Regions from separate parts of the Homo sapiens genome. Here region 2 is linked to region 1. Evidence: promoter capture Hi-C in human tissues and cell types (Jung and others, 2019). All regions are on one chromosome and are shown on one strand. The core of a region is centred on a gene start or on the middle of the fragment in contact, and the rest is flanking DNA. Distances in the headings are between cores, read along the strand shown. Region 1 holds the start of IAH1 (isoamyl acetate hydrolyzing esterase 1 (putative)). Region 2 has its middle 14 kb from the start of TAF1B.

Region 1 (5,826 bases), core at 2,209-4,708:
CGTGAGAGAAGTAATTATATATAAAGGGGCTGTGATGAAGTCTACAGACTACCTGACTTCAAGCATGGTATAGTGAGGTGCTTTTAAAATGGAGTTCACAACAGATAGATAATCTGAGCAAGTATCTCAGGTAAAAAGTCACTAATATCCTGGAACTTAAATAGTTTAGTTTGGTTTATATTTAAACAGTCTATAGAATATTTGAGATTTCTGGTTTTGATTAAATAGTTTTAGTAAATACATTCGTTGTGTTTCAACTTAAACCGGTTAATACTTTTTGTTTCCTTCTTAAAAACAGTTGGATTCACAGTACTGTAGGTGTAATGGGGGAAAAAAAAAAAAAAGCCGGGTTGCCTGGATTTGTTTCTCGGCTCCCTGTGTGACTAGGCGTGACCCTGGGCACGCTGTGCTCCTTCCTCACATGTAAAGTGAGGAGAATCCCAGTTAAGGATTCGCATCAGGCAGTAGGTTTGAAACCCCTCAGAGAATACCAGTCACATAAGAGGGACTCTTTTTTTCTTAGTCTTGGTAAAATGATATGATTTGGGATTTGCTTCAGAATAATCCATAGGAGGGATGGATGGGCTCATTTCACTCTTTGCTTCTGTAGATATTTAAAGTTGTCCATAAAGTTTTCTTAAAATGACGCCTGGGGTTCAACTTATGATTAGTAAATCAATATGGTTCATTTTGCTGTATTCACATTCCCATACATGCATAACCAAGCAGAGAAGCTGGGGCACCCGCGGAGAACTGCAGGCCACAGCGTCAGGCAGCGGCTCCAAAGCAGCACAAGGGGACACTTTCTGACACTGCTCAAAGTTCTCAGGTGGCATTTATAAACTGCAGAACCACCACCGAAACTCAGCCTTATTTCTAAGAGATTGTTTGTGTGTGTAATGATTATAAAATGCGACTAGCCATTTTACAGAGTGAAATCACAATACTTTAATGAAGTGCTGGGCTGGGTGTGGTAGCGAGTGCCTGTTGGTCCCAGCTACTCAGGAGGCTGAGGTGATGATGCCTTCAGCCCCAGAGGTGGAGGCTGCAGTGAGCCCTGATCACACTGCTGCACTCAAGCCTGTGTGACAGAGTTGTCAGGCCTCTGAGCCCAAGCTAAGCCGTCATAACCTGTTACCTGCACGTATACATCCAGGTGGCCTGGAGCAACTGAAGAACCACAAAAGGAGTGAAACAGCCAGTTCCTGCCTTAACTGATGACATTCCACCATTGTGATTTGTTCCTGCCCCACCCTAACTAATCAATCGACCTTGTGGCATTCCTCCCCTGGACAATGAGTCTCAGGAGCTCCCCACAGAGCACCTTGTGACCCCCTTCCCCTGCTAACAATAGATAACCACCTTTAACTGTAATTTTCCACTACCTACCCAAATCCTATAGTACTGCCCTACCCATCTCCCTTTGCTCTTTTCAGACTCAGCCCACTTGCACCCAAGTGAATAAACAGCCTTGTTGCTCACACAAAGCCTGTTTGGTGGTCTCTTCACGTGGACGCGCCTAACAAGAGACCCTGTCGCAAAACAAAAACCACCAAAAACCAAAACAAAGTGCGGTAGAATTGTGACAAGGTGAGTCTTAAGTCATGGCAGCACTTCAAAAAAAGGCAAAGTAGCTTCCTACCAGTGTGGTGTAGCAGTGAAACTGCAAGTTCTGCAGTCATAGCAGCTGGACTTGGATCTGTCTGCCCCTGACTAGGGAAGAGGCCTTGGCCATTTCCTTGATTTGTCTGAGTCTACCCAGCCATCAGTGCTCAACCCTAAAATATCTAATTGGTCAGACTGAGTGAAGAGTAAATGTTTTCTGTTCCTTCTCCTATATACTGATTAGGGGAGGCAAGCAAAATTAATAAAGGAGGAATGTTCTGTTCAGAACTATCCTTCATCCATAAGACGGATCCCTAAGACATTTTCCATCCATAAGAACTCAAGTATCGGAAACCATTCTCACCTGACCAGCCTGTCAGCCAGCGATGCTCCCCATCCACCCTGCTGGAAGGAAAACTGGAGGAAGAAAAGCCCATTATTACTACTAATGACTGTAACCGGGCATCTCAGCGAGGGCAGTTCTGATTGGCAACTTCTGTTTTCTCGGCGCTCCCTTCTTGGCTTTGATTGCTTCACTCCAGGAGGTCATTTTGGGGATTACAGGTAAGTACACCTGGCAGCACTTTAGCAGAGGGGGATTTTTCTCTATCAAAAGCTAAACAGCCTGTATTCCCAGCACTTTGGGAGGCCAAGGCGGGCGGATCACATGAGGTCTCGAGTTCGAGACCAGCCTGGTCAACATGGCGAAACCCCGTCTCTACTAAAATTACAAAAATTAGCCCGGTGTGGTGGCGCACGTCTATAATCCCAGCTACTCGGGAGGCTGAGGCAGGAGAAACGCTTGAATCCGGGAGGCGGAGCTTGCAGTGAGCCGAGATCGCGCTACTGCACTCCAGTCTGGGCGACAGAGCGAGACTCCGTCTCAAAAAAAGAAAAAAAGAAAAAAAAAAAAAAGCTAAACAGAAATCTAAGTTCAGGAAATAAAGTCAAAGGTCAGTGAGGAAATGAAGGCCACACCGCCTCACTGCTTTGCTGGTTACCGAGCTGAGGGTGAACACTTTTTCATACACATTCCCATGGAATTCGGCAGCTCTGACTGCCCCATATGCCTAAACATAATGTTACCAGTTACTGGCGTATACACAAAAGCCTGGTGAAGCAAGTCCTGTCTGAGAAGAGGACACACACAGGAATGGAATTTCTACTCCCTCCCCGAAGTAAGAACCTGCATTTAGAAGACCGTTCCCTTCATGGGAGGTGAGATGATCTTGGATGAACGGATGGTCCTTTTCTACCTAATTCCTGAAGGCGTTTTACTTCCAAGGTCAACCCCTAACGGCCCCACCTGTGCCCGCAGGGAATGGGGCGAGAGAGCTCCTGGCGCCTCTGCCCGGAGCTGGCCGCGGGGCCTCCTGGGACACAGCGCGCGGTCGCCCGCGGCCGCTAACCCGGACCCGGAGGGGAAAGGCCGCTGCCCAGGAGGGCGCTGAGGGGAAGACCGCGCATCTCGACCCGGGTGGGAGGCGGCGCGGGGCGGGCAGCGCGGCCGGGTCCCCTCGCGTCTGTGCCTGGAGCCCGGGCTCTCGCGGACGCCGTCGTGACCTCCGGGACGCCGCGGGCCCGGAAGGCGCAGCCACTGGGGGACCCGCCACTCCTCCGGTGTCTCCACGGGCGTGGCCAGGCCTCCGGCCCAGCCGTCTCGGGCGCCGAAGAGGACGGCGAGGAGCCTCGGCCTGCTCGGCAGCGACCCCGCAGGGAGGCCGGGGCGGGAGGCCGAGCGTCGGGGCGGCCGTACCTGGGTGATGGAGTCCCCGAAGAGCAACAAGCGAGGCCAGAGCAGGGCACTCCCGCAGCCCGCGGCCTCGCACAGCGCCATGGAGCAGCCGGGCGGGGCGGGGCGGGGCCGCCAGCCACGAGAGGCGCCTGCGCAGTGGCCGCCCGTGGGTTGCGGGAGCCGGGCTCGTGGGCACCCACGCAGTCACTTTGGTGACGCGCGAAGGTCGTTGCCCCTTGGAGTCCGTTTGCAAGAAGCTCGGCCTCCGCGCTTGCTCACCCACAGCAAGGCTGCCCCCAGGGAGTCCGGAGCCCGCGTCCCGCTGCGTGGTTCCCGGAAGAAAAGCGGTTGGGGGCCCTTCTAAGCCCACCCCGCGCTCCGCGGGCGCAGGTGCGTTCGGCAAAGGGCAGGAGTGTGACCTCAGGACGCGCGGCGGGAAGCACAGCTGGCTCTCGGTGGGGCGGAGGGCTGCTCCAGGCCCCCCTGGAAGAGGTCGTGGGATGCGCGCGCGGCCTCCTGCGCCCAGCGTCACTCTGGAGGGCCTGTAACACCCACGAGGACGCAGGCACTGCGGAAACCCTGGCAGTACCTCGTGGTTCTGCGAATGACAAGGGAAAGCAGCTGCACCTTCAGTGCGCGCGCAGCCGGCCGCTTTTCTTTTTCCCGCCGTGGGGTGGATGCGCAGATGCAGAACCCCGCGGACACGGAGCACTGACTAACTTCCAAGGGATTCACCTGTTAAAACGTGGTTGTAATGCAACGTTCTTACCTCAACTGTGCAATGAAGTTCGGCAGCCGAGCTAAAAACGAACGGGTGGGAAGGATGCCTTGAAATCACGGAGCTGTAGATGAGTAACAGAAGGGCCAGGGGCGCCGGCGCAGAGGCCGACCCCGCTCCCTGGGGCGGGGCGATGGGCGTAGAGCATGACTTTCTTTAGGTTGCTCGTCCCAAGCTCGCTTGGATCACCTGGGGGAGCTTTACAACTAAGATCCAACCTAGGGCCCTCATTCCAGCCGGACTAACTCACCTCCTGGTGGCAGGACTTGGGCACAGGTGCACTTGTGATGCACCCCACGTGATTCCCACGGGTAGCCCAGATTGAGAGCCCCTGCTAGAGCAAGCAAAGGTGCCTGGACTTCATCTTTATCACAAGGACTTCATTAAGGCCTTCAAGCAGCAGAGGCTTGAGGCCAGGTCTGTTCCAGGAATCAGCTATAGGGGAGGAGATGGAGGTGGTTGCAGGAATTCAGAGGGGAGAGTAGACTTGGACTCGAACAGCAGCAGTGGAGATGAAGACAGAAAAGATTCAAGTGCAACTTAGAATCCTTATTATTAACTCAAATTGGTTACCCCAGAGGAGAGGGTAACCAGCAGCGGTTGCTATCGGCAGATCTTGATGGTTTCAATGGGAGCTGCACATACATGCCTGGAAGAAGAATCCAAAATTCTAAAATAATGGGCAGTTGATCTAGTAGTTAGTTCTAGAATAATGGACAAATTAATTAGCAATTTAGCAGTATTCAGGCTGTTGAAATAAAGGCCATTTGACATTAAAAGTAAACAGGCTCCCCCAGAGAAACGAATGCATTTTATTTTAGGTAACAAAAGTAGAGTCAAGTATTTTTTCAAAGTTCATATACAGGCACAGTCTCAGTGAACTGGCGTCAGGGCCTCGTACAGTCTCTGTGCAGCCAGCTCCACCATTTCTCGGAGGGATTCATCGTCTTCACTTCCCTCTTCACATTCTACAGTCTGAAAGTGAGGCACAAACAAGACTGTTAGAATTAAGTCTATAATGATTATATAGAAGATAAATGAATACTCTTTAAAAAAACCATCATCTCATAAAAAATTAGCCAGCTGTGGTGGCGTGTGCCTGTGGTCCCAGATAAGAGTCTGAGGTGGGAGGATCACTGAGCCGGGAAGGTTGAGGCTGCAGTGAGCTGTGACTGCACCACTGCACTCCAGCCTGGGCGGCACTGCGAGACCGGGTCTCAAACTAAAAAAAAGAACAATCATCTGTGTGTGCAGAGGTCATGGTGGGACTGATTACCATGAAACAGAACGGCCGCCCTACACACTTGTGGGCGTGCAGTGCTTCCTGACAGCAGCACGGTCCTAATTAGTGATGACTTGAGGCTGGGGTGAAAGACTGGGGAAAGTCTAGTAAACTACATTTACATCAAAGCCCACAGTTTGATCTAGTAAATGATACTCCAGGGAAGTTCATCTATGCCACACAAATTACTTGGCAAGGAATGGATGTGGCTATCTACTCAACATTTGGTACTGAATTTGACTGAAACTCACTAATAATCTTCTAGTTGCTTCTTTTTTTTTTTTTTTTTGAGACAGAATCTCGCTCTGTCGCCCAGGCTGGAGTGCAGTGATGTGATCTCAGCTCACTGCAACCTCTGTCTCTTGGGTTAAGGTGATTCCTGGGTTCTCCTGCCTTAGCCTCCCAAGTAGCTGGGATTACAGGCAC
Region 2 (5,936 bases), core at 872-3,371, 360 kb before region 1:
GGACAAAATTTGACATGTCTATTGGAAATACAAGAGAAAATATTGAGGAGGAAGTCAACACATGAGTCTGGAATTCCAAGGAGATGTTCTGGCTGGAGATATGAATTTGGAAGTCATCAGTGTCTATGGGGAATATAAAGCCATGGACAAAGTGAAGACACCTAGGAAGTGAGGGTAGATGGCAGGTGGGAGAAGACAGCCCAGGGCTAAGTCACAGGACACCATAGCATTAGATGTCAGGGACAGCAGAAGCATCCAGCAAAGATGATGGAGAAGGAAGAGAACCAGAGGAGTGTGGTGACCGGAAGCCACATGAAGCAAGTTTCAAGAAGAAAGAAATGTCAAATGCTATTAAGAGTTTGAGTGAGTTCAGCATAGGACTCAGCAAGATACACAGCATTGACACGGTGATTTCAGGAAAGTGATAAGGATGAAAGTTTAATTGGAACAGGTTTAAGGCAGAATGGGAGGAGGGAAAGGGGACACAAGTGGTGACAACTCCCTGAAAGGGGGAGCAGAAACTTGGGCAAGAGCGGAAAGGAGCTGAAGGGAATATGAACGACTGCAGCATTTTGTATGCTAGTGGAAATCAATCGTGGGTTACGTTGGAGAGAGGCAGAATTACAGGAGTGAGCCCTTGAGTGGTGAGACGGATAGATCTGGCTCTGATGAGACCACCCCAGGGGCTGCATTATTCTTATGTGACCAGGTCACGGGAATTCAAGGAATGTGGCCACAACTCAGCTAGGCTGCATCCCTGATACCCTGATATTCAGGTGTGGCCACATTGGAGCTGGTCCCACTGCCTCCTCCTCACCCCCTGATATTGCCAACATCCCAGGACTTAGAACTCAGGACAAGTCAGCTAAAAGTTTAGCTAAAGAGGTGTGGCAATAGCTAAATGCTACCTTGAGGCAGCAGAGCAGGGTCTCTGGACTCAAGAGAGTAGATTTAAGTCCTGGCCCTCCTACTTCCCTGCTAGCTATATGGCCTGGACAAATCGCTTCAGTGAGTCTCAGTTTTCTTATCTGCAGTATGGGGGTGATAACTTTATCAAACCACCTTATGGGGCTTGAAGGCACGAATGGGATGATGGATATACAAGGGCTTTGTCAAAACTTTGTACACGGAAAAGTGAGGTATAAAGACCATAAATTGTCATTAGGCTTATTTTACCATATCATCCCCTGTTCATTCCCACAAAACAGCTTTGTGGAGGAGGCATTTCTGAAGACAAATTCCTGTGCCACTCCATTGTGGGCTGAATTTTCACTAGACTTTACGTTTTTGAAAGCTAAAGAGCAACTCTTGGCTCATTGCAAGAGCCTCCCTATTTCCTCACTGACATAAGCGTATATCACGTCAAGATCATCAGTCAAAAGGGAGGGGTAGACATATGATTATCTTCAAAGCTTTCTGGGAGCCTATTAAATGCTAATCACAAGGCACAGGGATGATCCAGAAAGCAAACATCATCCTTGCTGCTTCTCATCCACCCTCCATGTTCCTGCTAGAGAGAAGAGAGTATCCAGCACTTGCCCTCTGAATGGATCCTCCAGGCGCTCCAAGGCCTGCTGGTAGCCTGGTCTGCCCATAACTGAAACTGAAACCACTTGCAGTTTGCATAGCCCTGGGGAAGGATAAGGAGTGCGTATTTGCTAGGCACAGACTCTGTCAGGCACTGTACCAGGCCCATTACCCAAATGATCTCTTAACTGTTGTCATTAAACAGTAAAGGAAACTGAGGCTCAGGAGGACTAATCAGGTCACCCAACCAGCAAGAGGCCAAGAGGGAACTTAACTCAGTTCTGCCTGTTCCAAAGAGCCTACTTTTTCTGCTAACAGACCAAGTGCTTAATAAAGGTTTTTTTAGTGAATGAATGGATGAATGAATAAAGTACTCTGGATGCAAAATCACTTTGTCAAAGGAGCTCAACAGCCAGAAGGCACAGCCCCAATTAAACAGAAGCAAAACAACCTTCTAAGAGTGTGGCTTAAATAACTCAAGAGTTTCCCAAACTCAGGAGCGATAAGATCTCAGGCAAGTTGCAGAACCTGTTGGGGACTGGTTTATTCCATTTATAGGCTTGGGGCAAACCGGTCTTGCTCCTCCCTCCCTTCCAGGAAGGAGAGTAACAGAGCCACAGAAGTCTCATTTTAAATAAAAGTCTAGGGCTGGGCACAGTGACTCACGCCTGTAATCCCAGCACTTTGGGAGACCGAGGTGGGTGGATCACAAGGTCAGGAGTTTGAGACCAGCCTGGTCAACATGGTGAAACCCCGTCTCTAATAAAAATACAAAAATTAGCTGGGCATGTTGGTGTGTGCCTGTAGTCCCAGCTACTCAGGAGGCTGAGGCAGGAGAATCACTTGAACCTGGGAGGCGGAGGTTGCAGTGAGCCGAGATTGCGCCTCTGTACTCCAGTCTGGTGACAGAGCGAGACTCCATCTCAAACAAACAAAACAAAAAACAAACAAACAAAAAACAAGGGAGTAACCAAGAAAAGAACACATGGACCAAGATATCAGGAAGCAAGAGATCCAAAATATGGATGAACCCCCAGGATGATGGGGACTAGAAACCAGAATGACATCCACCCAGCATCCAGTCTCAACAGAATAAATGGAAGAAAGGCTGGCTCTGAGAAAGAGGTCTCTGGGAATTAGAGGAATATATGCGATGTTTGAGATAATGGAAAACATTACTGATGGAGTTGAGGCTGACTTGTTGGGGCATTAGGAAAAATTAATGGTGGGTGTGTAGAAAATCAGACAAATGAAAAAAAGGTGGCAAATGAACAACTCTAGTAAAAATGAAGAACTGAGGAAGAAAGGTGTTATGGGCATTAAGTTACTGGTTTTCTAGTGAATGACATCTGCACAATCATAATAAAGTATATCCTAACTACTGATATAACTAACACTGTTTTATAACTATATTGGGGGGATGGTGAAGAGGAAGTGGGGAGATATGGGAGATCAGAGACCTTATTCATCATTGTGGGAACTCATTCACAGTCTCAAAATGTCCATGAATATGCGAAGGAATAGGGATAACTCCAGCCCCACGACTTTAACTAACATCTATAGGACTTCCAAATTTAAGATGATGAGGGAAAAATGTTCCCACTTATTTTTTCTCTGAAAAATTACCCCAAAATAAGAAAAGTAACTAAACAGAAACACAAACTCTATCCTTGTAACAGCAGACATGGCAGTCCTGAACCTTTAAATGTGAAGCAGCTAAGTGGCTAGAGGAATGACAAAAAAGTAGACAAAGAGGAATTCAAATGTCAGCAGAAGTAGAATTTATATACAACAACATTGACCGATTTTAGGTGTACAATGATGAGTTTTGACATCTGTATACAGCAGTGCCACCAGTACCAAAAATGTAATTTTAAATTCTATACCCAATCCCGTAACTGCTAGCAACTACTGATCTGCTATCACTATAGGTTTGCCTTTTCTAGAACTTCATGTAGTGGGCGCATACAGGGAGTTGTCTTTTTTGCCTTAGTAGTGCTTTGCAATTCATCTATTTTGCTGCATGTATCAGCTCATACCTATTAATTGCTGAGTAGTATTCCACTTAGTAATTTTTCTTTATCTATTTACCAACTGATGGACATTTGGATCACTTCCAGTGGCTACTCTGAACAAAGCTGCTGTGAAAACTCAGGCACAAATCTCTGTGTAGACATGTTTTCACTACACTTGAGAAAATATTTAAGAATAGAATTTCCAAGTCATATGGTAAGTGAATAGTTAACTTTATAAGTGAATGCTAAACTTCTCTCCTTTCCTTTCCTTTCCTTTGCTTTGCTTTCCTTTCCTTTCCTGTCCTGTCCTGTCCTGTCCTCTCCTCTCCTCTCCTCCTCTTCCATCCCCTCCCCTCCCCTCCTCTCCTTTCCCTTCTTTTCTTTTTCTTCTTTTTTTTTCTTACTTTTTTTTTTTTTTTTTTTTTTTTGGGACAGCATCTCACTCTGTCCACCCAGGCTGGAGTGCAGTGGTGCAATCACGGCTCATTGCAGCCTAGCCCTCCTGGCCTCAAGCAATGCCTCTACCTCAGCCTCCTGAGTAGCTAAGACTACAGGCATGTGCCACCATGCCCAGCTAATTTTTTATTTTAATTTTTTTTTTTTTTTTTTTTTTTGTAGAGACAGGGTCTGTCTATGTTGCCTATGCTGGTCTTGAACTCCTGGGCTCAAGCGATCCTCCTGCCTCAGCCTCCCAAATGCTGAGATTACAGGCATGAGCCCTTGTGCCAGCCTAGGCTAAGCTGTTTTCTAAAATGATTGTACAGTTTTGTATTCAGCAGTGTATGAGAGTTCAAGTTGTTCCATTCTAATGCTTGGCATTATCAATCTTTTGAATGTCATCCATTTCAGTGTGTATGTAGTGGTATCTCCTTTTGGTTTAAATTTACATTTCCCTAATGACTAATGATGTTCAGCATTTTTTTCATGTGCTTATTCGACATCTGTGATTTTTTTTGATAAAATATCTGCTCAAATCTTATACACAATTTTAATTGTCTTTTATCATTACTGTGTTGTGAGAATTCTTTTTTTTTTTTTTTTTGAGACAGTCTCACTTTGTTGCCTAGGATGGAGTGCAGTGGTGTGATCTTGGCTCACTGCAACCTCTGCCTCCTGGGTTCAAGTGATTCTCCCACCTCAGCCTCTCAAGTAGCTGGGATTACAGGCACGCACCACCACACCAGGCTAATTTTCGTATTTTTAGTAGGACGGGGTTTCATCATGTTGGCCAAGCTGGTCTCAAACTCCTGACCTCAGGTGATCTGCCCACCTCAGTCTCCCAAAGGGCTGGGATTACGGGCATGAGCCACCATGCCCAGCCATGAGAATTCTTTATATATTCTGGTACAAGTCATTTATATAGTCTGGTACAAGCCAATGAGACTTGCCTTTTCATTTTCCTAATGGTGTTTTCAAAGAGCAGACATTTTAATTTTTGATGAAGTCCAAATTTGATGTAGTTTTGTATTTTCTTTTGTAGTTTTTGCTTTTTGTGCCCTATTTTTAAAATAGTTGCCTTGCCCAGGATCACTAACATTTTCTTCTGTTTTTTTTTAAAGGTTTATAATTTTAGCTCTTACATATAGTTTATGATCTGCTTCAAGTTAATTTTTGAATTGGTGTGAGGTAAGGTTAAGATTCATCTTTGTACATTGAGTCAACCAATGATTTCACTACCTTTTATTGAAAAGATTGTCTTTCCCCCCATTTAATTGTCTTGACACGTTTGCTGAAAATCAGTTGACCATATGTGTGGGTGGGTCTATTTCTGAATTTTATATTCTGTTTTATTGATCTGTATGTCAAAATTTACTTGAATACCAAACTATCTTGATTACTATTAGCTTCATAGTAAGTTTTGAAACCAGAGAGCATAACTCTTCCAATTTTGTTCCTCTTCACAATTGTTTTGGCTATTCTATGTATAAAATTTTTTAAATTTCTTATTAAATTTCTTTCTTTATTTTATTAAAATTGAGATGGGGTCTTGCTATGTTGGCCAGGCTGGTCCCAAACCTCTGGGCCCAAACAACCTTCCATCTTGGCCTCTTAAAGTGCTGGGATTACAAGTGTGAGCCACCACACCTGGTCTGCTTATTAAATTTTTTTTTTAAAAGACCTGCTAAGATGTTGAATATTATTGTATTGCATCTAGAGAATCAATTTGAGGGAGAACTAGCGTTTAAAGAATATTGAGTCTTTCAATCCATGAGTGTGGTATATCTTACCATTTACACTCACCTTCCTTCATTTCTCTCAGTAATGTTTTATAGTTTTCAGAGTATACCTATTGCACATATTTATTAAATTTATTCCTATTTCATAACTCCGTATGTGTGTGTGTGTGTGTGTGTGAGAGAGAGAGAGAGAAAGAGAGACAAAGAGAGAGAGAGA

The links. Contacts are between HindIII fragments. The study calls those that stand out against the background at their distance.
Region 2: a contact is called between a fragment that was not itself captured here and the fragment with the promoter of IAH1 in region 1, in 1 of the 25 tissues and cell types used here (spleen).

Annotation. Positions count from the first base shown.
Region 1 is chr2:9,472,183-9,478,008 of GRCh38, reverse strand. IAH1 (isoamyl acetate hydrolyzing esterase 1 (putative)) reads right to left here and starts at 3,458. Exons shown (of 6, transcript NM_001039613.3): 1 at 3,362-3,458; 2 at 1,970-2,022. The coding sequence starts at 3,442. CPSF3 (cleavage and polyadenylation specific factor 3) reads right to left here. Exons shown (of 18, transcript NM_016207.4): 18 at 4,908-5,093. The coding sequence ends at 4,992. RefSeq lists enhancers at 1,839-2,399, 2,880-3,647 and a silencer at 2,917-3,686. The HindIII fragment of the contact is 18,322 bases long and covers 1-5,826 here.
Region 2 is chr2:9,826,653-9,832,588 of GRCh38, reverse strand. No RefSeq gene overlaps it. Among named protein-coding and RNA genes, the nearest start is that of TAF1B, 14 kb to the left of the region's middle. RefSeq lists an enhancer at 1,978-2,517. The HindIII fragment of the contact is 4,516 bases long and covers 1-4,379 here.